Linked DNA regions of Homo sapiens: regions 1 and 2 are each linked to region 3. The links are contacts of gene promoters, found by promoter capture Hi-C in blood cells and fetal thymus (Javierre and others, 2016). All regions are on one chromosome and are shown on one strand. The core of a region is centred on a gene start or on the middle of the fragment in contact, and the rest is flanking DNA. Distances in the headings are between cores, read along the strand shown.

Region 1 (2,700 bases), core at 190-2,689, 1.2 Mb after region 3:
GGCTCACGCCTGTAATCCCAGCACTTTGGGAGGCCGAGGCGGGCGGATCACGAGGTCAGCAGATCGAGACCATCCTGGCTAACATGGTGAAACCCAGTCTCTACTAAAAATAAAATTAAAAAAAAAAATCAGCCGGGTGTGGTGGCAAGCGCCTGCAGTCCCAGCTACTCGGGAGGGCGAGACGGGAGAATCACTTGAACCCGGGTGGCGGAGGTTGCAGTGAGCCGAGATCGCGCCACTGCACTCCAGTTTGGGCCACAGAGCGAGACAGCGAGACTCGGTCTCAAAAAAAAAAAAAAAGAAAAGAAAGAAAGATACATTTGAAATGTACACAGACTGAAACAAATGTAAACTCTGCTAGTGCCTCAAGCATTTAATTAAATACGGCATTGTTTATTCTTGCAGATGTTCATACCATTTAGCATTACTGTCTTTAATAAACGTCATTAGGTTGTATTTACCAAATATATCAACCAATTGATAGAGTCAATATAATCATGGTGCTAGGAAGAAAAATCATTCATCTATGGTGTCTCTGCATTCGTCTAAAACACATACCCAAAAACTACTGTGTACACTGAAAGCTAAAAAAGGTAAAGGAGTACTGTATCTGCTCTGCACCATACACTGTGTAACATGCTCGAAATTAGTTCCTTTATTTATTTATCACCATTTTATAGATGAGGAAACCGTACCCAGGGTCATAGAGCTAGTAGGAATTATTTGGGCTGCTGGTTTCCAAACTTCGTGCTTTCGTACTAAATCCTGGGGAGATCCAAGATGAGCAAGACCCTAATCCTGCTTTCAGAAGGGAAAATAAAGTCTTATTCAAGCAACCATACTATTAATTAAAAAAAAAAAAAGCTTAACAAACCCGCTCTTTAAAAGGTGGGCACAGTGCCGGAGGCAAAGAATTGATTTCATTGGCAGCAAAGAGTGATGCCTTAGTCTAGGGAGCCCGGGAAAGACACAAGGGATAGAAAACAGACACCGGTTTTTAGTAAATGAATCGTTAGGTGTCTCCAGCGGCTGAAACACAGAGCGAGCAATGCGGGGTTAGGACTGGAGGACAACAGGGCCATCTTGTGACAGGGTAGACTGGCGTGCCAGAAAGGTCCCTGCCTACGGATGTGCAGAGCCGGCTGGGCCCGGGCTGTGAACGAGACGAAGGAAGCAAGTAGGAGCCAGAAATGTTAGGTGGCAAGGTCGGAAGGGAGGTCGCTGCCTGTAGCAACAAAGACGGCGGCGACAGGTTAGCACCGGAGCCACACTTTTCTATTGCCCGGTGCCTCCAGACTGTCGTACTTACCTGGGACCCGAGGACACCGGGACCGCCTCTCCTTACAATCGCTGCTCTTAAAGGGGGCGCGACCACTTAGGCAAGAGGAGCTCAACTCGCGGCACTACAACCTTCCCGCCCCCGCTGCGCTTCCGCCTCCTGACTGACGTGCGCCCCAGGGAGCGGAAACCCCGCCTCCCGCCGGGACCCAACGGCCACCGCCCGTCGTGATTCGCACTTTAGCGGCCACCTCAGTGCAGACGTCACTTTTTTTTCCAAAGAGTGACAGTCGAAGAGGCTCACGGGAGATGCAAACGGTACTTTTGGGGGCTGGGCCAGGGTGGGGCGTGGCCCGGGGCGGGGGAGGGGCGGGGCTGCCAGGCAGGGGCGGGACGGAGAACACCTGGGTCCCTAGCACCAAGACTGGCTTTTTATTCATTGCCACCGCCTGGCCGGTCTTGCGACGGTGCGAGTCCACCTCGGCTGGGCCTCGGAGGAGGGGCGACTCTAGAAGCTAAACTCGCTTTCGAGCTTTAACAACCATCTCGGATTGCGCATCCGCACACACACACACACACACACACACACACACACAAATTCAGGAATATTTTTTGTCTACAGTTTACATAATTATACACAATGAAAGCACTGAATATGGAGGATTTTTATTACAGTGCAATAATCTGCATTTAAGAAGTGGATGTGCCACATCGCAGAACACCAAGTTGCCACTAGTGGGATCACCTGCTGCCCACCTGATTCCAGCACAGTAGATAGCTACACATTTGAATTAAAAGGTAATCGTATATTGACATGTGTTCAAATTGCACTCTTTTTAATTTAAAAAAATATTTTTTATGGTGACAGTGTCTCGCTTTGTTGCCCAGGCTGGTCTTGAACTCCTGGCCTCAAGGGATCTGCCCACCTCAGCCTCCCAAAGTGCTGGGATTACAGGCGTGAGCCACCTGCCCTGCTTAAAATTGCAGTGTCTTAATCTCTTCCGAAAGATACATTTGAAAAACGCACAGACTTAAATCACAAATGTAAGCTCCCCAAGCGCCTCAAGCATTTAATTAAATAGAATGGATAATGAATTTGAACATATGTTTTTAATAATTGATGTTTGCTCAAGAGTAAAATGTTTATGATGCACAATTTTCTTGTGCATGGATCAATGACTGAAATAATCGTTTCAATATCAAGTATTTATTTACTGAAAACCAAGCATGTATTTACTCTATACCAAGCAGCTATTGAGTGCCTTCTACAATGCGAGGTGCTTCCTGTGCATCAGCTCTGGTCCTGCTGTTCCCTGATTTATATTTGAGACTCATGTTTCTTGCTCTATGTCAAGTAGCGAGCTAAGATTCAAATTTAAAGATCTGCCAGATGCTAAGGCCTGAGTTCTTAAATCTCACACA
Region 2 (2,700 bases), core at 64-2,563, 1.2 Mb after region 3:
TGAAAGTGTTAACAATTTTAATCCAACTCCAAGAGGACCAGAACTTGGCATTCCTTAGATGCAGCATTTAAAATTGTTCCCAGTGCCCTTTGAATGCTACTTTTCCCAGCCAAGGCAGGCTTATGTGGAGGAGATAAAGATGATAGCTTGAGGACTAAGGGTCCAACCCTATATAAATTACATTGGGGGAAATAGGGGAAGGTCTTTGAAGCTCAGAGTCTCTGACTGATATTTTGGGTAGATTTCAACCCTCTGCATTCTCTTCTATTTGTTTCTAGAGAAAACTGTGGTAGAGGCCTTAGTGAATCCCAGAGTCAACATCTGTCATCACCTTTTAGCAGGTAAGGCTAGGCAAACCTTTGAGTTTGGAATGGGTAGGGAAAATGTGGTCCCTCACGATGAGCCTCCCTACCCATTACTTTGCTAGAGGGACTGAAAACCCTTTAAAGACTTGGCCTTGGAAACAGAAGATCTAGGGACAGGTAAGGTGGAAAAAGGAGGTGAACCTACACCCCAAAGGGCTGGAAGTAACACCTTGACTATTTGCACCACGCCAGCAAATAAAGCTGAGAATCAGCTCAGCCCAAGGCCTGGAAAGGAAGCACAAATGCATGAAGAATAACTTGAACCTCATGGTTCTTTCAAAAGTCTCTTCGGCCAAAGTGTGAGTTGAAGAGTCGCATATCATTTGAGACTCTCTACTCATGCTCGCTGTTCTGAGGTTTGACTTTACACAAATCCAGCTCAGCTGCAGAAGCAAGCCACAATGGGGACCTCAGAGTGAGCCTGAAGACTCCCCACACCGCCTCTTTGAAGTCCCTTCCAGGTTCCCCACCCGATGTCCTCTAGCTCATTTGAGCCTTGTCGCCCTTTATGCTATTCTTCCGATATGGGTCGTAATTCCGTCTATCTAGGGTTCTTCCTGCGCGTGCCTTAGAGGCCAGAAGACCCTGACTCACGTGCGTGTCCTCAAAGCCCCCAGCCCCAAGCGTGGCTGCTGGTGGGCGCATCAGTAAACGCGGGTGGAACGGAACAGGCTCCTCCAACCTCTTTTCCACCTCTGATTTCCGTTAGACATTTGCTCCGCACGGCGGCCTCCGCGAGGCAACGTTGGACACTGGGAGGACAGCCGCAGAGGCCCAGGGCGCACTTCCTGCCGGGCGGGGGCGGGGCCGCGCCTCCTCCCTCCCTCCCTCCGTCCTTCCTTCCCCACGTGCCCCTTCCCCGCCCTCCCCGCCCCCTCCCGGGCGGCCGCGGCGCCTCGGGGGCGGGGCCGGAGCGGGTGGGCGGTGTGGCTGTGTGGGCTGGGCGCCGCGGCCGTGCTGCCAGCGGACCCGCGGCGGGCTCGGGCGCGGAGCGGGGGCGCGCGGCGCGGAGCGGAGCGTCTGAGCGCCGGCAGAGACCAGCCGGCGGGTGGCGGCGGCCCCCAGCACGGCCGGTGCAAGGCCTCGGGTTAAGCGGCGGCCGAGCGGGGCTCGGCCCGGGGTGCTCGGGGAGCTCGCCGCGGCGGGCAGCAGGAGGAAGCGGCGGCGGCGCGTCCCGAGCGGTGCGCGCCATGGCGGGCGGGCCCCCCAAGGCCCTGCCGTCCACGGGGCCCCACTCCCTGCGCGACATGCCGCACCCGCTGGCCGGCTCCAGCAGCGAGGAGGCCGTGGGTGGTGACAGCACGCCCAGCCCGGACCTGCTGATGGCCCGCAGCTTCGGTGACAAGGTGGGGCGCCTGGGGCCGGGGAGTGGGAGGCTTATTTCGCTCCCCGTGGGGGGGATGATGGATCCGGAGCCTTCGTGGGCCTGGGGCCGCGCCCACCCTGCCGCCCCTTCCCGGGGGACGGGCGTGTCCTGGCCCCGGAGCCCTCGGCGAAGCGTCTCCTCTGCCGCCTCCGCGGGGTCGCAGCCGCAGAGGGACAGGCTTCGCTGCCTGTGACTGGTCGCAAGCACCGGTGACAGCTGGTGGGGAGGGGTCCAGCCTGCGTGTTGGAGCGGGAGGCGTGTGTTCAGGGCAGGGCGCCTGTGTCCTCGGATGGGGTTCCGAGTTCCTCCAGGTGCATCCCTGCAGGCTGAGCTGCTGCATAACTTGTAGCTCCTCCAGTTTCCGAGACTGCACAGAAAGCAGGAGTTCCTGGCTTTCCGTGCTGGGACCGGGCAGCCCTGGGCTTACAGCGAGAGTCTTCTTCCCCCTAGTCAGTCATGTGGGGAGTGATCTTTGTTTAGGTTTGCTGTTTGTCCTGAGGAGTCACCTGACTCAGACCCCAGCCGGCGGCGGGAGGAGAGCCTCGTTGTGGTTTTCTGTCTGGGGCTCCATTCACCTCCGACGGCCTACCACTCTGTTTAGGTTTGGCAGAGGCTGGTTTTGTGGTTGATGGAAAGAAAGCTCGCCCTTTGACCTTCTTTGTACGGAGGGAGGCTCCAGATTTTCTTAGAGCAGCACAACCCTCCTGCTGCTTGGAGAGACAGCAGAGTCCAGGCAGGGGTAAGGGACGACCTCCTCCCTACCCCCATGGCCATTTCAGCTGTGAAGGAGACTTGAGCAGTGATTGTATCCCCGCTCCTGCCGTCACTTAGTCACTAACTGCAGAAATTAGAATTGTTCTCAGGTCTTGTGATCAAGATTTTCTCTCCCTAGTAAAATACTAAATGAATTCCCCCTTGTCCCAATATTAATGGGAGCAGGGGACCTAACTTTCTTCTCCCGTTAGAGGG
Region 3 (2,700 bases), core at 122-2,621:
GGGTTTCTCCGCGTGGGTCAGGCTGGTCTCAAACTCCCGACCTCAGGTGATCCACCCGCCTCAGCCTCCCAAAGTGCTGGGATTACAAGCATGAGCCACCGCGCCCGGCCATTCTCAGCCCTGTCTCTTCAGCTTGACTTGCTGCCTGTGATAAGCCCACTCCTTTTGAGAGGAGTGGTTCATTTAGTTGAGCTTGCTCTGCCCTTTTGAAGTCTCAGGGCCTTGAATCACCTTGCTCCTTCAGTCTAGAATGAATCTAGTCTTTCTCTCCTAACTCCACCCCTTCAGGGATCATCCAGTTATTAGAACCCTCCAAACAATTTTTCTGGAGTTCTTTGGCCCTTTTTGCAATGCCCCCAATAATCCATGCAAATACTCATTCATAAGCTCAACAAATATCTATTGAGTGCCTGCCATGGGCCAAGTCCTGTTCCAGGACCTAAACACACAACCTAGAACAAATGAAATAAAAATACTTACTCTTCTGAAATTAGTATTCTACTGGAGAAGGCGGACAAGTAGTAAAAAAAAAAATTAACAAACCTATAGGGCATGTTAGAAGAGGAAACAAGAGTAAGGTGGGATTCCTATTTAAGTGGAATGGTGGGAGAGCTTCATTGAGAAGACCTGAAGGGATGAGAGAGCGGGCCGTATGGCCACTTAGGGAAGGAGCAGGTCAGCCGGAAGTACCTGGCAGGTTACAAGAAGAGGAAGGGGTCTATCAAGATTGGAGCAGGAAAGTGGGGAAGAGGTGCGGGAGGTTACAGGGGCTAGATTCCATCAGGCCTTGTAGGCCACTATAAAGACTTGGGTTTTAACTCTGAGTGAAATGGGAAACCATTGCAGGGTTTTAAGCAAAGGAGGGTCATAATTTGACGTTTTTAAAACGTCCGTCTGGCTGTGGAGAATAGCCAAGAGAAGTAAGGTATAATCAAGAAGCTATTGCAATAATCCAGGTGAGCCATGAGGGTGGACTGGACCATGGGGGCAGGTGTGGAAGTCATAAGATTAATATGTGTTTAACTCAAGTTGTGGCATTAATTATGGCTTGCATTAAATGCATCGGTAATATGCTTCTGCGGTGGATTTTTCCACCTTAGATTTCAGGGAATGGAAGTGATGGGAGCGGGTAGGGAAGGTCTGAGGTTACTAAACAGATGGAGCCTCCTGGATCTGCAAACCTCATACGATTCTAGGCCTCTGAGCCTCTGGCGCAGCAATAATTCTGCAGCCGAGCCCACTAGCCGCTTCCCAGTGACCATGCGCAACAGGCAGGTGGGAGCCTATGGAAAGCGCGGACTTTCGGAAAGCTGCACGAGCGCGTTCGGGGAGTCCGGTTCAGCGCCTCTGCGCAGGCGCAGTGGTTCCCGCAGGCTTGCGCGCGCACTCGCTGCGGGACAAGCTTCTGGAAGCTCTTTGCGGTGGCGTTGGTGCTGTTTGCGGATGCTGATGCAGGTACTGGTCGTCCCGGGCCCCGAGTTTCGGGGCCGTGGCCGGGTCGCCGGCTCCGAGGGCGCACTTGGGGCGGGATGGGGGCCGGGAGCAGCCTACCAACGGGCTGTGCGCTGCGCTGCTGCTGCTTCTGTGGGAGGTGCGCACTCCGCTGCGGGATGGGGCTGTTGGCTTCCCTCCATCCCTCCCTGCGCCACTTGGGCACTGTTGACATTTTGGGCGGGATAATGCCTTGTTTTGTTTGTGGTGTGGCGGTGAGGGGGAGGCTCTCCCGTTGTGGCAGGATGTTTAACAGCGTCACTGGTTCTGCCCGTTAGATAACAGTACCACCTCTCGTCCTAGTCGAGCTAACCAAAAATGTGTCCAGACATTGCCAGAGGACCGCTGGGGGGTGAAATCTCTCCTTTTTTCTTCCCTCTGGTTGAGATCCTCTGGCTGCGTCACATTTTCACCGGGCCTCCTATGTAAACTCCCTGTAGACGGAGCCGAGTGTCTTAGTCATCGCGGAGCCCCAGGTGCTCAGCACGGCGCCAGGTACGTGGTGGGCGCCTAATATTTGGCAGAGGAATAAATGACGTCATGCTGCTGTGTGCCGGGCGCTGTACTCGGAAGTGGGTTGTTATTGGTATGGTAGTTGCAATGCGAGGCTGTCACATCCTTCACTTGTCGCATTGTAGTCCCGCTCCGGCTGTATTGTCATTTCCTGGACCCTCTGTGAGCGTGAGGACCCTTTCAGGCCTGTCCACGCCTGGCCCCGCAGCTCATGGCCCCTGGTCTCGTTCCAGCTCATTGTAGTTGCTCCGTCACTTATAGAATGAATGAATGAATGCAACACAGGGCAGTCTGTGTGCAAAGGAGTGCTTTGGGATCAAGCAGAGCATCACACCAGAAGTGACAGTTGAAAGGAGTCAGGCTTTAAAGACGAATAAAAGTTTGGTAGGAGAAAGAAAGCAACATTCCGAGGAGAGGGAATAGCCTTGGTGCAAAGGCTAGGAGAGTATGTAGAGAGAGAGGAGATACTAATTTATGGCTGTAGTGTCAATCGGGTAGCTAGAGCTCAAGAGGTGAGGTCATCAGACAGTGTCTCTAGATCACAATGCCATGGTCCCTGCATGTGAACTTTATCGAGAGACAGTTCGGTGGCTGGTGAGGGACTGTAAGCCGGGGAGTGATAAGATCATATTTTGCATGTTAGAAGGAATTTTTTGGCCACAGTGTGAGACTGGAGTGAAGAACCCTGTACTTAGG

Evidence for each region. The method cuts DNA at HindIII sites, captures the fragments that hold promoters and counts their contacts. A CHiCAGO score of 5 or more calls a contact.
Region 1: the fragment with the promoter of INIP here is called in contact with the fragment with the promoter of ZNF483 in region 3 in 5 of 17 cell types (naive CD8 T cells, naive CD4 T cells, total CD4 T cells and 2 more); the score reaches 18.6 in naive CD8 T cells.
Region 2: the fragment with the promoter of SNX30 here is called in contact with the fragment with the promoter of ZNF483 in region 3 in 6 of 17 cell types (activated CD4 T cells, naive CD8 T cells, non-activated CD4 T cells and 3 more); the score reaches 8.9 in activated CD4 T cells.

What each region holds. Positions count from the first base shown.
Region 1 is chr9:112,716,678-112,719,377 of GRCh38, forward strand. INIP (INTS3 and NABP interacting protein) reads right to left here and starts at 1,440. Exons shown (of 5, transcript NM_021218.3): 1 at 1,310-1,440. RefSeq lists an enhancer at 1,022-1,121 and a silencer at 1,492-1,651. The HindIII fragment of the contact is 2,113 bases long and covers 863-2,700 here.
Region 2 is chr9:112,749,447-112,752,146 of GRCh38, forward strand. SNX30 (sorting nexin family member 30) reads left to right here and starts at 1,314. Exons shown (of 9, transcript NM_001012994.2): 1 at 1,314-1,711. The coding sequence starts at 1,556. SNX30-DT (SNX30 divergent transcript) reads right to left here and starts at 1,119. Exons shown (of 1, transcript NR_186503.1): 1 at 1-1,119. RefSeq lists a silencer at 1,072-1,891 and enhancers at 1,161-2,082, 2,083-2,700. The HindIII fragment of the contact is 6,629 bases long and covers 1-2,700 here.
Region 3 is chr9:111,523,808-111,526,507 of GRCh38, forward strand. ZNF483 (zinc finger protein 483) reads left to right here and starts at 1,372. Exons shown (of 6, transcript NM_133464.5): 1 at 1,372-1,455. RefSeq lists a silencer at 1,275-1,624 and enhancers at 1,725-1,924, 2,036-2,535. The HindIII fragment of the contact is 1,786 bases long and covers 1-1,400 here.